Linked DNA regions of Homo sapiens: all the other regions are linked to region 4. The links are contacts of gene promoters, found by promoter capture Hi-C in blood cells and fetal thymus (Javierre and others, 2016). All regions are on one chromosome and are shown on one strand. The core of a region is centred on a gene start or on the middle of the fragment in contact, and the rest is flanking DNA. Distances in the headings are between cores, read along the strand shown.

Evidence for each region. Contacts are between HindIII fragments. The CHiCAGO score rates a contact against its expected background, and 5 or more counts as called.
Region 1: a contact is called between a fragment that was not itself captured here and the fragment with the promoter of PTPN18 in region 4, in 1 of 17 cell types (neutrophils). The highest score is 10.4, in neutrophils.
Region 2: a fragment that was not itself captured here is called in contact with the fragment with the promoter of PTPN18 in region 4 in 3 of 17 cell types (M0 macrophages, monocytes and M2 macrophages); the score reaches 7.0 in M0 macrophages.
Region 3: a contact is called between a fragment that was not itself captured here and the fragment with the promoter of PTPN18 in region 4, in 2 of 17 cell types (monocytes and neutrophils). The highest score is 8.8, in monocytes.
Region 5: a contact is called between a fragment that was not itself captured here and the fragment with the promoter of PTPN18 in region 4, in 3 of 17 cell types (M0 macrophages, M1 macrophages and neutrophils). The highest score is 7.0, in M0 macrophages.
Region 6: a contact is called between a fragment that was not itself captured here and the fragment with the promoter of PTPN18 in region 4, in 1 of 17 cell types (monocytes). The highest score is 5.1, in monocytes.
Region 7: a contact is called between a fragment that was not itself captured here and the fragment with the promoter of PTPN18 in region 4, in 1 of 17 cell types (neutrophils). The highest score is 6.1, in neutrophils.

What each region holds. Positions count from the first base shown.
Region 1 is chr2:128,037,070-128,039,788 of GRCh38, forward strand. No RefSeq gene overlaps it. Among named protein-coding and RNA genes, the nearest start is that of SAP130, 10 kb to the left of the region's middle. The HindIII fragment of the contact is 2,307 bases long and covers 175-2,481 here.
Region 2 is chr2:128,155,126-128,158,092 of GRCh38, forward strand. It overlaps UGGT1 (UDP-glucose glycoprotein glucosyltransferase 1), which reads left to right. Exons shown (of 41, transcript NM_020120.4): 20 at 364-462; 21 at 1,267-1,290; 22 at 2,127-2,221. Among named protein-coding and RNA genes, the nearest start is that of UGGT1, 65 kb to the left of the region's middle. The HindIII fragment of the contact is 1,412 bases long and covers 589-2,000 here.
Region 3 is chr2:128,094,430-128,097,345 of GRCh38, forward strand. All of the region lies in intron 1 of UGGT1 (UDP-glucose glycoprotein glucosyltransferase 1), which reads left to right. Among named protein-coding and RNA genes, the nearest start is that of UGGT1, 4.7 kb to the left of the region's middle. The HindIII fragment of the contact is 7,457 bases long and covers 1-2,916 here.
Region 4 is chr2:130,354,728-130,357,700 of GRCh38, forward strand. It overlaps PTPN18 (protein tyrosine phosphatase non-receptor type 18), which reads left to right and starts at 1,329. Exons shown (of 15, transcript NM_014369.4): 1 at 1,329-1,473. The coding sequence starts at 1,381. RefSeq lists silencers at 909-1,578, 1,719-1,768. The HindIII fragment of the contact is 15,291 bases long and covers 1-2,973 here.
Region 5 is chr2:128,172,224-128,174,923 of GRCh38, forward strand. It overlaps UGGT1 (UDP-glucose glycoprotein glucosyltransferase 1), which reads left to right. Exons shown (of 41, transcript NM_020120.4): 29 at 350-539; 30 at 1,558-1,716; 31 at 2,550-2,635. Among named protein-coding and RNA genes, the nearest start is that of UGGT1, 82 kb to the left of the region's middle. The HindIII fragment of the contact is 3,393 bases long and covers 1-2,700 here.
Region 6 is chr2:128,189,946-128,192,858 of GRCh38, forward strand. UGGT1 (UDP-glucose glycoprotein glucosyltransferase 1) reads left to right here. Exons shown (of 41, transcript NM_020120.4): 41 at 1-2,913. Among named protein-coding and RNA genes, the nearest start is that of UGGT1, 100 kb to the left of the region's middle. The HindIII fragment of the contact is 4,858 bases long and covers 1-2,913 here.
Region 7 is chr2:128,013,271-128,016,228 of GRCh38, forward strand. It overlaps SAP130 (Sin3A associated protein 130), which reads right to left. Exons shown (of 21, transcript NM_001330301.2): 5 at 1,533-1,644. Among named protein-coding and RNA genes, the nearest start is that of SAP130, 13 kb to the right of the region's middle. The HindIII fragment of the contact is 1,228 bases long and covers 801-2,028 here.

The sequences.
Region 1 (2,719 bases), core at 78-2,577, 2.3 Mb before region 4:
ATGAAGACAGAACACAGCAGTAGGAACCAATTGCATTAGGGATAAAAACCCCTGCCCCACCCTGCTCAGTGTGCTCTTGCAATCGTGACTGGCGCAAGCTGCACACTTCTGCGGAAGTAAATTTGCCTTGCTGAGAAAATTTCTGTTTGAGTGCTATTTCTTTTGCAGCACTGAAGCTTGTTTCTAACAAATTTGGGGGTTCGTCCAGGATTCCCATTCTCCTCTGGGGAAGGGTCCAGTCCTCTCCTGTGAGGAGGTGTGCCCTGCTGCCTCATTGCAGTGGACTCAGGGGTAAGGAATCAAGACCCACCTGGTGTGACGAATAAACCTGGACTCTCAGCAATGCAGGAAAAAACAGACCAACAACTTGGGAAAAAAAAAGAAAAAGATCATCATATACCATGGCAACCAGGTAACTCTGTGCACAGACCAAGGTAAGAAACATTACTGGGTTGACAACGTATTTCCTTGATTGTTGGGAGATCTTGGAGGTTGAAAGCTGTAAGTGTGTGAATAAGCACTACTAGCGTGCAGAGTGAGTTGAGTTCAATCTGTGGTTCCATGGTCACCTCATATGGCGGCCTTTCGAGGGTCCCATCAGGGGTTTATACTGATTCGCCAACGTTAAGAGGGACCCGATGTTCCCTTTGGGGAAGTGGCCAGAGAGGATGAAATGAAAGGAAAAGAGTGCAAGAAGCCCCCACCAGGGAGGGTTGAGCCTCTAGAGAAAAGGAAGGCAAGAAATCCCTAATACGAGGCATTGAGCCTCTAGAAGAAAGGAAAGGTGAGAAATCTCCAGTAGGGGGCACTGAGCCTCACACAAACCTCTAGTATTAGGGAAGGCAAAAAAATTTCCAGTAGGGGAAGTTAAGGTTCACCCCAAAACCATCAAGATTGGAAATACCCCAAGTAAGACAGGAAGTAAAAAGGATAAACCTAACAGCAATGATATTCCCCTTGATAGTCCCTTAGGTCTCATGTTAAAGTATTTGAAAGATAATAAAGGACTAAGCATAAGATAAAGCAACGAATGATAAAATAGTTTTATTTGGACCCAGGAACCAATCCTCAAACCCTCAGTTTTGTGGACAAAATTTGGGTCAAATGAGTACTGGATTTGTCAGCTTCTAATAGAACATGTTAATATCAAGAGTCTTGTTTCCCAAGAAGAGATAGATTATGCCTTGTTTTGGTGACAAGGACCTGTTCTTCTCTACCCCCCAAAACTCTAAAAGATAAGCGTAAGCCAGAGAATGTTTCCCCTAAGGAAACTGAAACTCTTAACCCCAAGCAATCTACACCTCGGACCTGCTAAATCACCTTCCCCCACCAAACACTCCTAACTTTCCTCCCCCTCAAGCAGCTGCTGTCCCAGACCCTTCTCCTACCCCCGTTGTTCCCCCTCCTTATAACCCTGCCTCTTGGGAATCATCCCAAGAGCCCAATCACTACCAGCCTAAGTACCCTTCCCTAAAGGGACTTCAACGTGAAATAGAGAAATGTAAAAAAGATATTCAAAACTTCCCCAAACTTTCCCTTCCCCTCTGCCTTAGGGGAATCAGCTCCAGCTCTCTTCCCCTTGAGGGAGGTGCCCCTAGGAGGAGGAGGCATTGGCTTTGTAAATGCTCCTTTAACCAGCTCAGAAGTACAAAACCTAAAAAGAGAGCTTAAGCCACTATTAGACAACCCTTACGGGGTAGCAAACCAAATTGACCACTTTCTAGGACCACAGTTACATACTTAGGCTGAGCTAATGTCCATCCTAGGCAACTTCTTCTCAGGAGAAGAAAGAAGCATCATTCGTAGAGCTGCTATGGTAGTCTGGGAACGTGAACACCCTCCTGGCCAAAACGTTCCTGCAGCAGATCAAAAATTCCCCTCCCAAGACCCCTGGTTGGACAATAACAATGCAGCCCACCAAGAAAATATGCAAGACCTTAGGGAAATGATAATAAAAGGAATTAAAAATCAGTACCCTGAACCTAGAATCTTACCCAGGCATTTCATATTCAGCAAGGGAAAGATAAAGGGCCTATAGAATTTTTAGACAGATTAAAAGAACAAATGAGAAAGTATGCAGGTCTAGATCTCGAGGATCCTCTTGGGCAGGGAATGTTAAAACTTCATTTTCTTACTAACAGTTGGACAGATATTTCAAAGAAATTACAAAAGATAGAAAATTGGAAAAACCGTCCCATGAGTAAACTTCTTAGGGAGACTCAAAAGTGTACGTAAGAAGGGACGAAAAGAAACAACAGACAAAGCAGAAGGCAAAACTTCTGCTGTCAACCGTACCACACAGTACTCAGGGGGCGAGAACCTATAAAGAGCCTAGGCCCCCACTTTCCAAGCCATATAAAGAGCACCAAAAAGCGAAGCCTTCGAACTTAAAATTAGAAAAGGAAGAAAGGATCTCTTTGAAGGCTATAATGCTTTGAAAACTGTGTTGGCAGTGTGGCATGACTGTTTAAAGTAGATAAAAGCTTGTCCTTTTACCCCATCCCGGCATGACTGTGAAGCTGGCAAGGAAAGAGGAAGAAAGGCAAGTTCGGCTGCAAGCTGGGCGGCTGGGACAGGTTGGCTGAGGGACCACTCTGGAGGGCTCTTGCGCCCGGCATTGCCCACTTCAGCCCAGCTGTGTGTTTACGGCAACCAGAGTCCCTGCAAAGGTGTGGCTGGCTGCAGTCAGGGCCTACTAGGACCGTCAGCACACTCCCGT
Region 2 (2,967 bases), core at 45-2,544, 2.2 Mb before region 4:
AAGAGCTTACTCCACTGGTTGGACTAGGGAAGGGAGAAATGAGTTAAGGGGATCTCTTTGAGATTGTCCTCCAGTTGACAAGTGACAGGAATGGGAATAGGATGAATTCAGCCATTAAACTGACACATACTTATATGATAGCTGTGTGAGATATGTATGTTTCCATCAACCTTGTGTCTTTGATGTGTGACTTCAGTAGGGATAGGGGCCATGTTGTGAAGTTGTTCAGTAAACATGGAACTTAATATACTTCACTCACGCATTTCTATAAATCTTATATTATGATCAAGTCAGGTTATCAGTTGAATATTAAGAATAGATTGAACTGGAACTAATATATACGTATTTCATTTTTTCTCCCAGATAACTTCTTTGTGGATGATTATGCTAGATTTACTATCTTGGATTCCCAAGGCAAGACTGCTGCTGTAGCCAATAGTATGAACTATCTGACAAAGAAAGGTAATCCATTTGAGGCTTATTATCTTGCATTCAACATTTTTTTGAAAGTATTTGCATATTCATCTTAATGTGCAAATTAAGAGAGAAAAGGGAAAGAGACTTCATAATTTTTCTTATTTCTTATAAAGCTTTGAGTCTAGAACATATCTATTTAAAGTTTAATTCTTTGTATATTTGTTGAAAGTATATATTTGTTTAAAAATTCAGATGTCTTCATAAATTTTGTATTACCTGTTTTACCTTTTGACTAAAGTCAAAAGGAAAAATATTTCATAGTTCAAATGGAAAAACATTTGTGATGTAAAAATGGGTTAATGAATTAAAAATGACTGTACAGGGTTAATATTATTTTGGGGTTTATAAGATAAAGTTGGTTTTAGAAAGCCTTGTATAATCTTTGAAGCTGATTTTATGCAGAGGTATTTATTTAGGCTAAGATTGTGTAAAATGACGCCCTGTAGTGGCGGACAGATTCTGTCGCCCTCGGGTCAGTGCTTCAGAAAAGCACTGGCTGTTATTTTAAGTCAGCTATTTTTACCGCCTTTTTAAATCCCCGCTGTGGTCTCTCCCCAAGAGAAGTTCTGGTTTCTCAGCTGTATGTAAAGTACAAGCAATTACTCCATTTGGTTCTTTAAAGAAACTGTTTCTTAGGGTACTGGGACAGCGCCATGACACCGACAGGACTAAGCAGCAGGAAGAACCATAGACCGTGTTAGCCATTGTTTAGACTTTCAATTTTTACAGTAGGCATTCATTCCAGAAATGATACTTTTTTTCTACTCTTTTCTCTTTACCTTTGTTCAGGAATGTCCTCCAAGGAAATCTATGGTAACTTAAAACTTCAGAATGTTCTATTTCTTAATTTTCTTCTTTGGTTTCAGTGACCATTGTAATTTAGAATTTATCAACACTTAATTGTACTGTTTCCGGAATCTGTGGGTAACAGGAAGCTATATCAATGTAGATAATTTTTTTTTTTTTTTTTTTTGAGACAGAGTCTCATTCTGTCACCCAGGCTGGAGTGCAGTACCATGATCTCGGCTCACTGCAAGCTCCGCCTTCTGGGTTCAAGTGATTTCAAGTGATTCTCCTGCCTCAGCCTTCCAAGTAGCTGGGATTACAGGCACCCGCCACCACGTCCAGCTAACTTTTTTGTATTTTTAGTAGGGATGGGGTTTTACCATTTTGGCCAGGCTGGTTTTGAACTCCTGACCTCAAGTGATCCACCCTCCTGAACCTCCCAAAGTGCTAGGATTACAGGCGTGAGCCACTGCACCCGGCCAATGTAGATAAATTTTGTATAAACATTTGTAAAGAATTAGTTTCAGAAAATTACAAATTAGTATGATTAAAAATGACAATATGTTACCCACATGTTCAAAGGCTGTTTTTCATTTTACATGCTAACAGATGCCCAGACCAGTGCATTAATCAGTAGAATTAATCAGTGCATGTTCCTAGTCTGTAACTAAACTCTGTGGAAGATTCCCCTGCTTTCCTATAGTAAAGGTTTACGACTTTTTCTTCTATCTTTATTAAGCTTGTCATTTTCTTCTTTTTGCATGGTTCTTACAAATTATTTGGTCAATTTCATTTTCAGAATGTTGAAACACAGAATGTGCTTCTCTCCTCTGACTCAATTAGCTGTTTTTGTTTTTCTACAGATGATTCTTTTATTAGGCCAGTAACTTTTTGGATTGTTGGGGATTTTGATAGCCCTTCTGGACGGCAGTTACTGTATGATGCCATCAAACATCAGGCAAGTATCTATGACTTCATTTTATATTTTTGTTTGTGGCTGTAGTTGTCTTCATGGGCTTCGCTGTGCGGCTAGGATTGTTCAGTGGGAGTTGGGAGTCCTGCTTTCTTAATGCTCGAGGGAACGGAGAATTGTATCTCTAGAGATCTGCCAGCTCTCAAGAAAAGAGATCTAAGACTACAGTATCCAGGCTTTGTTGAACGGGATAGATTCTTATAGAGAAAAAAATAAATAGCGAGATCCTCATCATAGACAAGTTTTATTGCATACCTGTTCATGTTCTTGGAGCAGAGTTGCTCCAACAATTGTGTTGTGTACTGTATCGGGGAGATGGGGTCCTTACCACGACAGAGGTCTGGACATGGGGGCAGTAGCACACAGGAATGGTAGTGTGTGTGTTTAGTAGAAGTAGATCCAGATGCACTGAGGGATACACACATAGGTGTTCTGAAAAGATATGCTGCCATTAATAGTTGGGCTTGAGTGAGTGGCAATGGCAGGTGGTTGGGAAGCAGCTGATTCTTCTGGAGAGTGTCATCGTTAGAGGATGAGATGTCAAAATTCTTTTTCCTGGGCTGTTTCAGTTTGCATCTTCATCCATACCTCACAACCCTCCTCATGGTCCCCTTTCCACCCTGTACCTGGGAAGGTTTACTGAAATAAAGAAATATCCAGGTGGTTTCAGTTTTACTCATATGCCGAGTTCCTTTATTGTTCAAGGAGTGGACCAAATGCTGTGGTCAATT
Region 3 (2,916 bases), core at 351-2,850, 2.3 Mb before region 4:
ATAGTACTTGGCACTTTACAAAGTGATTTTTTTATTGCCTCTTCATTTTCACATTGACCCTGTGAGGCAGATACTATTATTCCTACTTTGATAGTCTTCGAGACTAAGGGCCTGGGAAGTTAGGTAACATATATGTGGTTAAACTGCTAGTACGTAGCAAACTCAGGAATTGATCACAGCTGCCCTGATGCTAAAAGGTTCCCTTTTTTTACAAACCGTGTCTATTGTGTCCTGTAGAGCAGGTTTCTGAGGCTGCAGTCTGTGGGCCTGTGGGAAAGGGTGTCTATGGTTAGTCCTAAGAGAATGCTTTTTTTTTTTTTTTTTTTTTTTTTTTTTTGAGACGGAGTCTCTCTCTGTCGCCCAGGCTGGAGTGCAGTGGTGCGATCTCGACTTACTGAAACCTCCACCTCCCGGGTTCAAGCGATTCTCCTGCCTCAGCCTCCTGAGTAGCTGGGATTACAGGCACCTGCCACTATGCCTGGCTAATTTTTGTATTTTTAGTAGAGACGGGGTTTCACCACATTGGACAGACTGGTCTTGAACTCCTGACCTCAGGTGATCCACCCACCTCAGCCTCCTAAAGTGCTGGGATTACAGGCGTGAGCCACTGCGCTGGGCCAGTCCCAAGAGAATTCTTAAGTTGTACATAAAATTTGGGTCCTTGTTTGCTCCTCTGTGGGAAATGTCAGTAACTTTACTAGATTCCAGAAAAGGCCTATATCCTCTTCACTCAACCAGCCAGGAATCACTGCTATCAGGTTTCATTGTGTAAAATCTAGTTTGGTTATCTCTAATTTCAGTAGGTTTCATTTTTGTGTGTGTATTCTTTCATTTCTGCAGCCTCTATAGCAGTTTTTACAAACGTTGATTTTGAAAAACACTTCTGAGTGTTTTTATTTATAAGTGGGATGTTCTTCTTCTTCTCCTTCCTCTTCTTCTTCCTCTTCCCCTTCCCCTTCCCCTTCTCCTTCCCCTTCCCCTTTACCTTCCCCTTCCCCTCCTCCTTCTCTTCCTCCTTCTTTCTTCTTTCTTTCCTCTTCCTCCTCCTCCTCTTCCTCCTCCTCCTCCCCCACTCTCCTCCTGTCCTGCTCTCCTCCTGTCCCGTAACTCCTCCTGTCCCGCTCTGTTGCCCAGATGCAGCATGGACCTCCTAGGCCCAAGCTATCTTCCCACCTTAGCCTCCCAAGTAGCTGGGACCATAGGTGCATGCCACCATGCCTGGCTGATTTATTAATTTTTTTTGGTTTCCAAAGAAGCTGGCAGTGCCTGAACTTAAAATGCTTCTGAAAGCCACTTTTCTATTTGTTATAATTTATTTTGCTTTTGACCATCGTTCTTCAGAGATACTGTATGTTCTATGAAGCAGGATGTTAACACAAATGATGCTTTTTATAAAAAGCAGCTATTGACTAGTCCCCAATGTGGACAGCCTCCCTCAGTGATAGATTTTGTAACCAATATTAAAGAACTGGGATGAGACCGAAGTGAGCCTTACCAGAGCTAACATTCTGAAGCCCAAGGATAGCTTAGTGCTTCCCACATATTCACACCCCCTTTTAGTTCTCATTCAAATGGGTAGAGCTCAGGGGAGGTCCGATTAGGGTTCTGTTAGGTGGACTTTGGAGATGAAAATCAGAGAAATCTGCAGCTGGAGACCTTTTTCTGAAACTGTCTGGATGCTGTCTGAGAGGATCTTGACAGGCTTGGAGCGGCTGCGGAGGGTGTCAAGAGGCCTGCATTCTGTGGCCATCCACTTTGCCAGTGACCCTAGATCCCTCATTTTGTAGATGGGACAGTTGGCTTGGGAAGCCACTAAAATTTTACATTTCTTTATTTCAGAACCTGTCTGAGTTTACATTTGGGACCCATTATGTTAGTTTCCTAGGGCTACCACAACAAAGTATCACAAACTGGGTGGCTTAGAACAATAGATATTTACTGTCTCACAGTGCTAGAAATCCTTACTCAGGGTTTCACAGGACCACGTTCCCGCTGAAATCTTTGGAGGAAGAATCTTTCTTTGACTCTTCAGCTTCTGGTAGTTTCAGGCATTCCTTAGCTTACAGTATAATTTTAGTGTGTGCCTCTGTCTTCACCTGGTGGTCTCCTGTGTCTCTACATAGTTTTCCCTCTGTGCTGTCTTTCTCTGTCCAGATTTCTCCTCTTTATAACATCAGTCATTGGGTTAGTGCCCACCTAATAACCTTGTTTTAACTGATGACCTCTGTAAAGACTGTATTTACAAATAAGTTGACATTACGAGGTACCGGGGGATAGGATTTCCATATCTTTTTTGGGGGACACAGTTCAACCCTTAATACCTATCATTTATATTTTCATCTATCTCAGCTTTATTTGCTTTCATCCTTTATAAAATATGGTTGTGTGCAACCTGGTGTGCCACCAACTGATTTTTATACCCCTGTATGGTGTAGATTGCTTGGGAAATGAAGCAGAGCCTTTGTAGGAAAGAATGTAATAACCTAAGTGCCTTCAGTTACATATCAGTCACTCAGCAAATATCTGTTGGACTAGCTAGATATTAAGTGCTATTATATGTCAGAAGCATTTCTGTTTCGCTAACTTATGTTATTTTGTGTCTCCAAGTATTATTAGGATTGTTATTTTGTGTCTCCAAGTATGAGGTTAAAATTACCTTGTAGCAGGCCAGGCATGGTGGCTCATGCCTGTAATCCCAACACTTTGGGAGGCTGAGGCGGGCAGATCACGAGGTCAGGAGTTTGAGACCAGCCTGGCCAACATTGTGAAACCCTGTCTCTACTAAAGATACACAAAATTAGCAGGGTGTGGTGGTGCGTGCCTGTAATCCCAGCTACTGGGGAGGCTGAGGCAGGAGAATCGCTTGAACCTGGGAGGCAGAGGTTGCATGAGCCGAGATTGCACCACTGCACTCCA
Region 4 (2,973 bases), core at 79-2,578:
CTGCTGATCCCCACAGAGCCACTTTGATCGCTCCATCACTTCAGCCAAGGTCAGCAAACGACAGCCTGTAGGCCACACACACACACTAGAATAATTCATGACACATGAACATTACATGAAATTCTGATTTCTTTGTCCATAAATGGTTTCTTTGGGACACAGCCACACTATATTGTCTGCTTTCATGCTGCCACAGCTGAGTTAAGCAGCTGGGGCAGCGATAGCAAAGCCAAAACCACTTCCTACCGGGACCTTTAAGAAAGTGTGCCCTTAAATACTCTGATAGCCCCTAGTGAATTAAATTGACCACCTGACATCATGCCCCTGTTGACCCTTCAGAGACTCAGGCACACATCCAGGCCCCAATGCTACCTTTCAACCCCTCAACGACCTCAAACTGGTGTCCACTGACGCCCCTTCCAGTGACACCCCTCTTAATTCTTCCGACCTCGGCGAGAAGGGGGCTAACCTAGGCCTGTCCTTGAAGAGACCCAGGTGCCAGTCCATTCTCTCCAGCCTCCCCTCGGTGATCCCGGAAGCTGGAACGGCGGCTCTCCTCTGACCTCTGCACACTTTCTGAAGATGGGAGTGTCAGGGCAGGCAAAAAAGAGAAGCTCTTCGTTCCCCAGAACCCACTTCCAGTGCCTCAGTTCTGTTTCCCAGCAGGCTTGTGCAGGTCGAGATGCTCACACAGGACTGACCCTGGTGCCCCAGCGCATCCGGGAAAAAGGAACCACAAATTCCTCGGGAAATACACAGAGAAGATCCCGCTGCCACTTGGCCTTTCCCACGGCGTGGCTGCCCCTCCCCGGCCTCCCTTGGGCCCGGCTGGAGCGCACAGCGCGGGACGCCCCCGACCCGGGGTCCTCTGGCACGAGGGGCAGCCTGATCTCGGCGACCGTCTCCACCCAAGGCTGCTGCCCGCCCCAGCTCGGACTCCGCGCGGCCTGGCTCCCAGGGGACGGGCGGGAGGGCCCGGCGAGACCGCTCGGCCGTCCACCCAGAGCCGGCACCCGGAGGTCGGCCCCTGGGCGCGGATCCCGATCTGAGGGCGGGTCCCAAGCGGCAGGGAGCGAACCTGGGACCGTGCCACCCCCCCACCAGTGGGCGCGGCAGCCGAAAAAAAGGGGAAGCGCCGGCGCTGGACTCTGCTCAGGGCAGCCCGCGAGGACCTAGGGCTCCGGCCACAGCGGCCCGAGCGCCCGGGGTGGGGCTACGCGGGCTCAGAACACGGTGGCTGGGGCGCCCTGCCCGCCGCTGCGCGCTTCCATTGGCTGCCGAGGCAAGGGCGGGGACTCAGTCACCGGCCTCCGCCTCCCGCGGCGTCCACACTCGCCGCGCGCGCGGCGGCCGGGCTGGACCTTGCTGGCCCGCGGCGCCATGAGCCGCAGCCTGGACTCGGCGCGGAGCTTCCTGGAGCGGCTGGAAGCGCGGGGCGGCCGGGAGGGGGCAGTCCTCGCCGGCGAGTTCAGCGTGAGTGGCACACGGGGTCCGCGAGCGGCGCGCCCCGGCCCTGGCCCTGCGTACGCCTGTCCTCCGCGCACGGCGGGCTCTGCCTTTCTGTCTCGGTGTCCCCGGTGTCTCCCCGCCTCGGGGGGTCTCTCCGTGTTTCTCTCCCCAGCACTTCTCTGTCGCTCTTGCTGTCTCCGTCTTCACTCTCTGCCCCCCGGCCCCGGAGCGCGACGTCCACGGCCAGGCCGGGACGGACCGTGCACACCCTCGTTCCCGGTGTCCTCGTCGCGCTCCCGGAACAACCTGGCTGCGGGCGGGACAGGTGGGGCGGGCGCCGCAGGGGAGGGCGGGCGGCCCTGCTGCGCTGGACAGCCCCGGCCCCGCCGCTTCTGGCGACCTGACTGTCCCCTGTGACCACAGGAAGGAAGGGGCTGCAGCAGGGCGAAGAGGAACACGGAGGCTGTGGCGTGGTGAGGGTGTGAACGCCGGGCTCGAATCCGCGTCCGGGCCCGAATCCGCTTCCCGTCCCGAATCCGCGTCCCGGCCATCCGCGTGTGGTCCAGGCGGTCTACCTGGCCCCTCTGACCTCGGCTTCTCCCTTGGTGAAATGGGGACATGAATGACCAAACTGGTCTAAGGATTAAATGATGTGGGTGAAAAGCACTTAGTACATATTGGGCGCACACTTCGTAGGGGCGTTCGTCACTGCCTATAAAGATTCTAAACGTGGGCCAGGTGCGGTGGCTCACACCTGTAATCCCAGCACTTTGGGAGGCCGAGGTGGGAGGATCGCTTGAGCTCAGGAGTTCGAGACCAGCCTGGGCAACACAGCGAAACCCCGTCTCTACTAAAAATACAAAAATCAACTGGGCATGGGCGCATGCCTGTAATCCCAGCTACTAGGGAGCAGAGACAGGGGACTCGCTTGAACCTGGGAGGCAGAGGTTGCAGTGAGCTGAGATGGTTCCACTGCACAGCTGAGATGGTGCCACTGCACTCCAGCCTGGGCCACAGAGTGAGATCCCATCTCAAACAAAACAAAACCAAACAAAAAATCTAAACGTTACAATACAGGTAGTGCAAGCCCAGCATTAGGAAGGCTCACGCAGAATGCTAGGCACTGTACATTACAGTTGATGACGTGTTTAAAGTGTAATCGCTTATGTACCAGACATAGAAACATACCATACAAACGCATAAACTGATATATGGTGACATGTATCAAGTTTAGAAATATGACAAATATATAAAAGTATTATAAATGACCGTTTATACAATAAACATTGCATAACTGCATAAAACAATACAACAAATGAATATAACAAAGATTATAATTTATAAAATGACCAAAGTTATTTGATAAATTCATAAGTAGATATAAAATATGTAACAGATGGCCGGGCACGGTGGCTCACGCCTATAATCCCAGCACTTTGGGAGGCCGAGGCGGGCGGATCACGAGGTCAGGAGATCCACACCATCCTGGCTAACACGGTGAAACCCCGTCTCTACTAAACACAC
Region 5 (2,700 bases), core at 95-2,594, 2.2 Mb before region 4:
AGTGGCCTCCGTTCAAGTGATTGGATTTTGGCTTGCAGGTGGACAGTATAGTGGCTGCTGAGTATGAGCTAGAGTACCTGTTACTAGAAGGTCATTGCTACGACATCACCACAGGCCACCACTGAGCACTCCTCCTCAGTGCTGTCCTTGTTTGCCTTTTCTTGCATCTGCAGCAACCACAAGGAGGCATCATAAGGTCAAAGATGGTTTTGGAAACACTTTTCCCAATCTGGAAGGGTACTCCTCCAAATCTAATTTGTTTTAACCAGTTGTTACCTGTGTAAGGGCTGTGCACTCAAGTCCTGTTGTCACATCGAAAATTATCTAACACTTTCCTTTTCAATTTCAGCTTTTACCGTTATGTCTTAGAACCAGAGATTTCTTTCACTTCAGACAATAGTTTTGCTAAGGGTCCAATCGCAAAATTTTTGGATATGCCTCAGTCTCCACTGTTCACTCTGAATTTGAACACACCTGAGAGCTGGATGGTAGAATCTGTCAGAACACCATATGATCTTGATAATATTTATTTAGAAGAGGTAAGACCATATCTATTGCTTCCAAATACCTAATCATGTATAATACAGCAGATTGAATCATAGTCTAGGTGGGCCTCTGAGACATCAGTGTTCAGGTATGATATTTTTTTAAACAACAGCTTTATTCACATGGAACTCATATACCATAAAATTCTCCCCATTAACGTGTACAGTTGAGAGGTTTTAGTATCTTCACGGAGTTGTGCAGCCATCACCACTATGTAATTGTAGGATGTTTTCAGCATCCCCAGTGAAAGCCCCATACTCATTAGCAGTCACTCTTCATTTCCCCAGCCCCTGGCAACTGCTGGTCTACTTTGTATCTCTATGGATTTGCCTATTCTGACATTTTGTCTAAATAGAATCAAATGTGGTCTTCTGTAACTGGCTTCTTTCACATAACAAATTGTTTTCAAGATCCATCCATGCTGTAGTATGTATCGACGCTTCACTCTTTTTAACTTGCCAGATAATATTTTATTTATGGACATATCACGTTTCATTTATCCTTTCACGAATGGACATTTGAGTTGTTTTCACTTTTTGGTTGTTATGAATAATGCTGCTATGAATGTTGTGTGCAAGTTTTTCTACTGATACGTGAGTACAGGATGTCTTTGCATTTAGGTCTTTAATTTTTTTCAACATTTAGTATCTTATCCTCGTTCGTATTTTTAGAATAACGTCCTTATTGTTTTTTTCTCCTTTCTCTTTCCAACCTAGTTTTTATAATTGTATACAGTCATTAACCACCACTATAGCCACGATGCAGAACATTTCCATTACCCCAAAAAGTTCTTTTATACCCCTTTGCAGACAGTAGCCTCCTCTCGCCTGGTTTCAGGCAACAACTGATCTGCTTTCTGTCATTATACTTTTGTCTTTTCTTGAATTTCTTAAAATATGATCATATATTATGTAAGTCCTTTTTGTCTGCTTCCTTTACTTTGCATAATGCATTTCAGATTTATTCATGTTGTCTCTGAGTGCATTCAAGTGATTGGATTTTGGCTTGCAGGTGGACAGTGTAGTGGCTGCTGAGTATGAGCTGGAATACCTGTTACTGGAAGGTCATTGCTACGACATCACCACAGGCCAGCCTCCACGGGGACTACAGTTTACCTTAGGAACTTCAGCCAACCCGGTCATTGTGGACACCATTGTTATGGCCAATCTGGTAAATAATCTGTTCATCAGATAGTGATATTGTAGTTACGTTAATTTGGGCACTATAATTTATGATGGAGCAATTAGCATTCTTAACCATAGAGTGAGATTAAAATTCATTATGGGCTGAATTTGGTCAATATAGAAATCATTAGTTCAGCTAAATTTGTAGGTTAGAATTACATGTCAAAAGAAAAAACATGCTGGAATACTCAGCTATAACTGAATTGGCCCCCTGAAAATAGATTGCTCATGAGCTGACAGCCTTTTTCTTTTCTTTGGAAGTGCAACACTTATTCATGCATCACACGTTGATTCTTCCCTGAAGCACAGCTAAAGAGCAGATGATTTATTGGTGTGACTGGCCTTTATTGTACTAGTTTTTTTTTTTTTTTTTTTGAGACTCCTGCCCAGGCTGGAGTGCAGTGGTGTGATCTCAGCTCACTGCAACCTCCGCCTCCCAGGTTCAAGCAATTCTCCTGCCCCAGCCTCCTGAGTAGCTGGGATTACGGGCACCCACCACCATGCCCGGCTAATTTTTGTCCTTTTTTAGTAGAGATGGGGTTTCACCATGTTAGCCAGGCTGGTCTCGAACTCCTCACCTCAGTTGATCCACCTGCCGTGGTCTCCCGAAGTGCTGGGATTACAGGCGTGAGCCACCGCACCTGGTCTGTGCTAGAGTTTTTAATGTGTAGTTTTGGTTTTTTAAGAGTTGCATTGATTTGTTTACTGTGTTATTCACATTATAGTTGATTGATATTTCAGAAATAGAAGTAACTGTTCCTCAGAAATAACATTTTGGTGTTTTGAAGAGAGCTAACTGGACTTTTCTTCTTGTCCTAGGGCTACTTTCAGCTGAAAGCCAACCCAGGAGCTTGGATCCTCAGACTTAGGAAGGGACGCTCTGAAGATATTTATAGAATTTACAGGTAGGAGTAAGTGATGCAGTTACATTATCCCAGAACTTTTAGAAATGAGCATTAGCTCTAATTGA
Region 6 (2,913 bases), core at 395-2,894, 2.2 Mb before region 4:
CAGAGGAAGACCAAGTGGCTGATCCTTTGGACTCTGTAAAGAGCATTCTTCTAGTCAGAGGGTGGAATGGCAGCAGCAACTGGAAGAAAATGAGTTTTTTGGTGCCCACACCCAAGAGCACACACATGCTGCACTGTCTCGGAAAGCAGGGCCAGCTAGAGCCACCATGTTCTTCCTTACCTCAGTTTACCTGCGGCCTGCGCTGCACTGCAGATGCCCACCCTGCCCTGGGTCTGGCCGGCGGAAGCTCTGTCCAAGGTCCACACACCTCCAGGTTTACGCCAACATCCTTGTGCCCTCCCCACCTTCTCTTCCAACGCATTAGGTGCATTGTTTAATTGAAATCCAACCAACAATTGTGTGTCAAGGCTGGTTTGGTGCAGTGGCTGGGCAAATTAATTTTGGGCCAGGATGGGGGTGGGTTGCAGTGAGGGTAGGGAAAATGTCAGGAGTAGGAAGGTTCGGGGGTTAAGGGAAGGGAAGGAAGACCAGAACTGGCCATCCTCTTTTATAATCCATTAGTAGCACCATGGCTCATTTGAAATGAAAATATTACACTTATTCCCCACCCAACCGCAGTGAACTTTCTAGGTAATTGTTTTGAAAACAATTTTTGTATCTGTGAAAGTCTTTGCTTTTTCTTTCCACCTTCTAGAAAAGTCTGCTACCAGTTTCCTTACTGAATACAGCCATACTCAGCCCCTCTCGCATCCAGCCCGTCAGGGTCAGGGTCAGGGTCAGGCTCCCTCAAGACGAGCACCGCATTGTCTGCCCTCTTTTGCGTAGGATTTTTCTCTCAGACCCAGGGGACATTGCCTTGGACTTTTCTCTACAAATGCCCTCAGATGTAAGACCAGAAATGATTCTGCTTGTGGAACTCGTGGCTTTCTGTCCTATTTTCCTTTTATGTGAGCCCTGCAGGTTGCCTTTGGCGCCCACACCAGTTCTGTCTTCATGTCGCTGCATCGTGAAGCCCCATTTGCCTTTAGTCCCTGCTTTGTGTGTCTTCACTTCCACAGCCAGTGTTGCCCCTCAGGGCATACTTTGCTGGTGAACGGGCTGTAGAGTCTTGAGTATGTTATTGGCCTAAGTGGGCATGAGGCCCCAGCATCCGACTCCATCTGCCAGGCTGCAGGGCACAGCAGCACTGGCATAGACAGGCACGCTCTGTCTTCCAACGTGCACCAGCCTTTTCTTACATATTTTGCCTGTTTTTAAAAAATACGAGGAGAGGGTGCAGATGGATACTGTGCCCTCACCCTCCTAAGCCAGGTAATATATTGATGTGCAGACTTTTAAGAAATCTTAGTCTTATCACAAATATCAAGTAATTTATTTTTTCCATTTTCAAATGCAAAAGTTAGCCTAGGAAGCCTCCCAGTCATCCTGAAGGACCTTTTGACTTTGCTTTTATAATTCTGTTAAAAATTGAGGAGGGGATTAATGAGTACAATGAAAACAAAACAAAACAAAAAATTAAGAAGAGGAAAGCTCAAAAGAGGATAAGAGACTGAAAAGGCACCTCAGAATGGCTGCTGTGGGCAGAGTCTGTGACATGACTTTCCCCGCCCTGCCCCTCTGTTCAGAGCAGCTGGAAAGATGGGATCAGTAAGATTAAAAAACTTTTGTTCGGCCAGGCGTGGTGGCTCACACCTGTAATCCCAGCACTTTGGGAGGCTGAGGCGGACGGATCATGAGGTCAGGAGTTCAAGACCAGCCTGGCCAATATGGTGAAACCCCGTCTCTACTAAAAATACAAAAATTAGCCGGGTGTTGTGGCTCACCCTCTATTCCCAGCTACTCGGGAGGCAGAGACAGGAGAATCGCCTGAACCCAGGAGGCAGAGGTTGCAGTGAGCTGAGATCGTGCCACTGCACTCCAGCCTGGGTGACAGAGCGAGACTCCATCTCAGAAAACAAACAAACAAAAAGAAACTTTTGTTCAAGCTGCATCTTCACATTGAATGAAAGCATTCAGACGGGTGACTGCTGCTGTCCACAACTGTGGGCGGAAGTGTGCCTTTTCCCAGTTTCTCGTCCAGGAGGTTGCATAGCAAATACTCAAGTCACTGGGATATATGCTTTCCAAATGCTGGCCCCCATAGCACCTTTCCCCATGTCTTTCTACCAAGCCTCTTATGTTTAATCTGTGCAGGGAAGACAAGAGTAGACCATATTCTCTGTGTGCTGTGCATGTCCTGGTGTCACTCATTGCCTCTTATCTGTCGCCATTCTAATATAAGTCAGCTTAATAGTTGACTCTGAATAATGCAAAACCCAGCTTGCTTCCAGAATGGCCTAGGACCCTCCTCCTCCTGCCAGTTTTTTTTTTTTTTTTTGGTTCATGTGGCATAATCATCTTTCAAAATTAACCAAATGCCCCAGAAAATGATGTTACCACTAAAATATTTTCTCCAAGAAGGCATACTGTAACAGAAAAGATAGGTAAGATATTTTTTTCCCAAGAAGTAAGAATTGATTGTGCTGAATGTTCAAACTCTGGAAACTGTTCACAGTATGTTGTTCTTAGCTGTTATTTATATAAAGTGAATTATTTTCTCTCTCAATCATGCCATAGTGGAGACTTTTGTTTGTGAGTAAGTGACAGAGTAATATGAAATAATGTGATATGTCAGAGTGACATGCAGCATCCTGAGCCTGTTTTTATGTTCTGTGTACAGTGGCATTTGATTGAGATCAAAGCCTGTCACAGCCTGCTGCTGGGGGTGTGGGGATATGCCAGAGTCCTGTGTTTGGTTTTAGAAGTTTACTGAATGTTTCCCACATGGAGAATAATGGATGGCATGTTAGTTTCTTTAAGAGTGGTAAAGTTGTACATCTGTCATTGTTGCATTTCGAATTGAACACATAGATGCTTGCCTGTCTGCTTGGGTGAATGCCTCTTGGGAGAGCG
Region 7 (2,958 bases), core at 165-2,664, 2.3 Mb before region 4:
TACTTCCCATTTCATCACAGAGAAAACAAAGAAAATGTGTATTCAAGAGATTTAATAATAATTTATATTGCCTCTTCACAGACAACCTTAAGTGAAACTAGCTGCTGTTTTTTGTTTCTGTTAACTGCAAGTGTGCACAGTGGTAAAGCACACAGGGAACAGCAGTGTGATGCCACTGCCTCAGCTCTGACGAGGCTCGGACACTTTGCCTTCCAGTCTTTGTTCCATTAGAGCAGACGTCGACATTGCCAAAGGGACACATTATGAACCTTAACCTTAAACCTAACCCTGCACTTTTCACCCTGCAGACCCCCATAAGGGCCTGTGAACCACATTTGGAGAACTGCTGAGTTATGCTATAACCAAGCAAACCTGGTCTTGCGTTTGCTAACTTGATTTTGCCAACAATCTCCAATTGTTGTAAAGTCTCCAATAAAAGGTAAAAATTTCTAGTCAAAATTCATTTATTACCTCACAACCTATTAGAACTTAAGGGTAAAAATAAATTAATCTTAGCCATGTGGTGGCTCACACCTGTAGTCCCAGCCACTCAGGAGGCTAAAGTGGGAAGATCGCTTGTGCCCCAGAAATCTGAAACCAGCCTGGGTAACCCAGTGAGGCCCCATCTCAAAAAATAATTATCATCATCATTTTATTGTTACATAAGTTAAAAAACTGAGTAAAGATCATCACTGAACTTTAAAAATATTCAGTATTAATATTTGTGACTTATGTATTAAAAATAAAGACCATGTTGCAGATAAGCAGTCTAATAATAAAGACCATGTTGAGATTATCAAAGCTTGGGCAGTTCCTCAATATATAGGACAATTTTAGACCATATTAAACACTTTAATTGCATAAATATACACACTTGTAATACAACTATAATAAGCACATATTAAACCATGCTAAAAACATGGATTGCTCTAAGTTTATTTCTACTGTCTTGCGATTTTTTTTCTTTTTCTTGAGACAGGTTCTCGCTCTGTCACCCAGGCTGGAGTGCAGCGGCGCAATCTCAACTCATTTCAACCTCTGCCTCCCGAGCTCAAGCCATCCTCCCATCTCAGCCTCCTGAGTGCCATCCTCCCATCTCAGCCTCCTGAGTGCCATCCTCCTATCTCAGCCTCCTGAGTGCCATCCTCCCATCTCAGCCTCCTGAGTGCCATCCTCCCATCTCAGCCTCCTGAGTAGATGGGACTACAGACGCATGCCACCACACCTGGCTAATTTTTTGTATTTTTGTAGAGACAGGGTTTCGCCATGTTGCCCAGGCTGGTCTCAAATTCCTGGACTCAAGTGAACCTACCACCTCAGCCTCCCAAAGTGTTGGGTTTATAGACATGAACCGCAGCACCTGGCCTTTTTTTCTTTTTAAATAAAAGAGGTTTATTTGGTTCACGGTTCTGCAGACTGTTGTTCTGCAACTTTAACAAGCTGATTCTAGATACATTCTGTGTTACGTATTTTACCAAATGTATATCTACTACTACATTTTGAGAGTTTGAACAAAACTTGCAAGTCGTTACCTCGAGGTAAATGAGAAGCTCCAATGTGAAGAGGGGGCCCAGGAGCATTGCTGCGGATGATAGACATTTGCACATTTGTAGTCATGATGTGATGCAGGTTACTGGGATGGCCCTGAAAGAAAGAGGATAGAACGTTATTTTTACATGTTTGCTCTTAGCCATTGCCTCTAGGAAGTCACCTGCCTCCAAATGTGGGTCAGGTTGTTTTTTAGATAGTGAGTATCCCAAGAGAAAGGGCTAAGGACATTCAGCTTGAGCTACTTTTACATGCCATACCGTACAATGAACTGTGCTAACAGGCATGTGAGAAGTATGAGGACCCCACAACTGCTGCAGGCCCACATAATTACAGATAATATACTTCGATATCTACGTTTAGAAACTCTCATCTGCGATATTACCTTTCACACTTGTTTTCCCTGTTCTGGCCAAATGCTTATTTTTTTTCCCATTCTCACTATTTCCTTTACATACCACTGCATCCATCCATTCTTTAAGCTTTTTTGTTTCTAAGTAAATGTCAGTTGGTATCCAACAGGTGCTCCCTACCAGTTCTTCAGCTCAACCCTGAAATGTCCCTTACATTCTCCCAAACCACAGAGTTCAGGGCTTCTCAGCTAAGGGTTCTGGTACTTCTGAGAGTACTCAGCAGTATGACAAAAGGAAAAAACACAGTACACCTCTTTGGGATATAAATTTTTCTTGAAAATGTGAAGGGAAAGTTTTTAGATTTAGTTTTTTTCCCCAGGTAAAAAATGTAAAATATTTAATTAATCAGGTACACAGCAGAGTAGGATTGCAAAATTTCACAAAAAAACCTTAAAACAGAAGACTTCAGAATAAATGTTCGCAACTAAGGCTGGGTGCGGTGGCTCATGCCTGTAATCCCAGCACTTTGGGAGGCCGAGGCGGGCAGATCATTTGAGGTCAGGAGTTGGAGACCAGCCTGGCCAACATGGTGAAACCCCGTCTCTATTAAAATAAAAAAATTAGCTGGGGGTGGTGGTGCCCGCTTGTAATCCTAGCTACTCGGGAGGCTGAGGCAAGAGAATGGCTCGAACACGGGACGTGGACGTTGCTGTGAGCCAAGACTGCACCACTACACTCCAGCTTGGGTGACACCGTGAGATTCTGTCTCAAAAAAAAAAAAAAAAAAGTTTGGAACTAGAGAGCTGCTTGAGGTAACCTATCCCAAGAGATGCACATCTGCTCTCCTCAGAGAAACCACAGAGCAGCACTGCCTACCCCCGGAAGGCAGTTCTTGACGCTAAAACCAAACACGAACCGGACTCCGGACTCCTCAAGGACACGGACTGTTTTATCTAGATTTATATATCACACTAGGGTCGAATCGAGCATCTAGTAGCTGCTCAATAAATTCTAGCTAAATGACCACTATGGACACTGGCTTCTACTCCCTTTACAG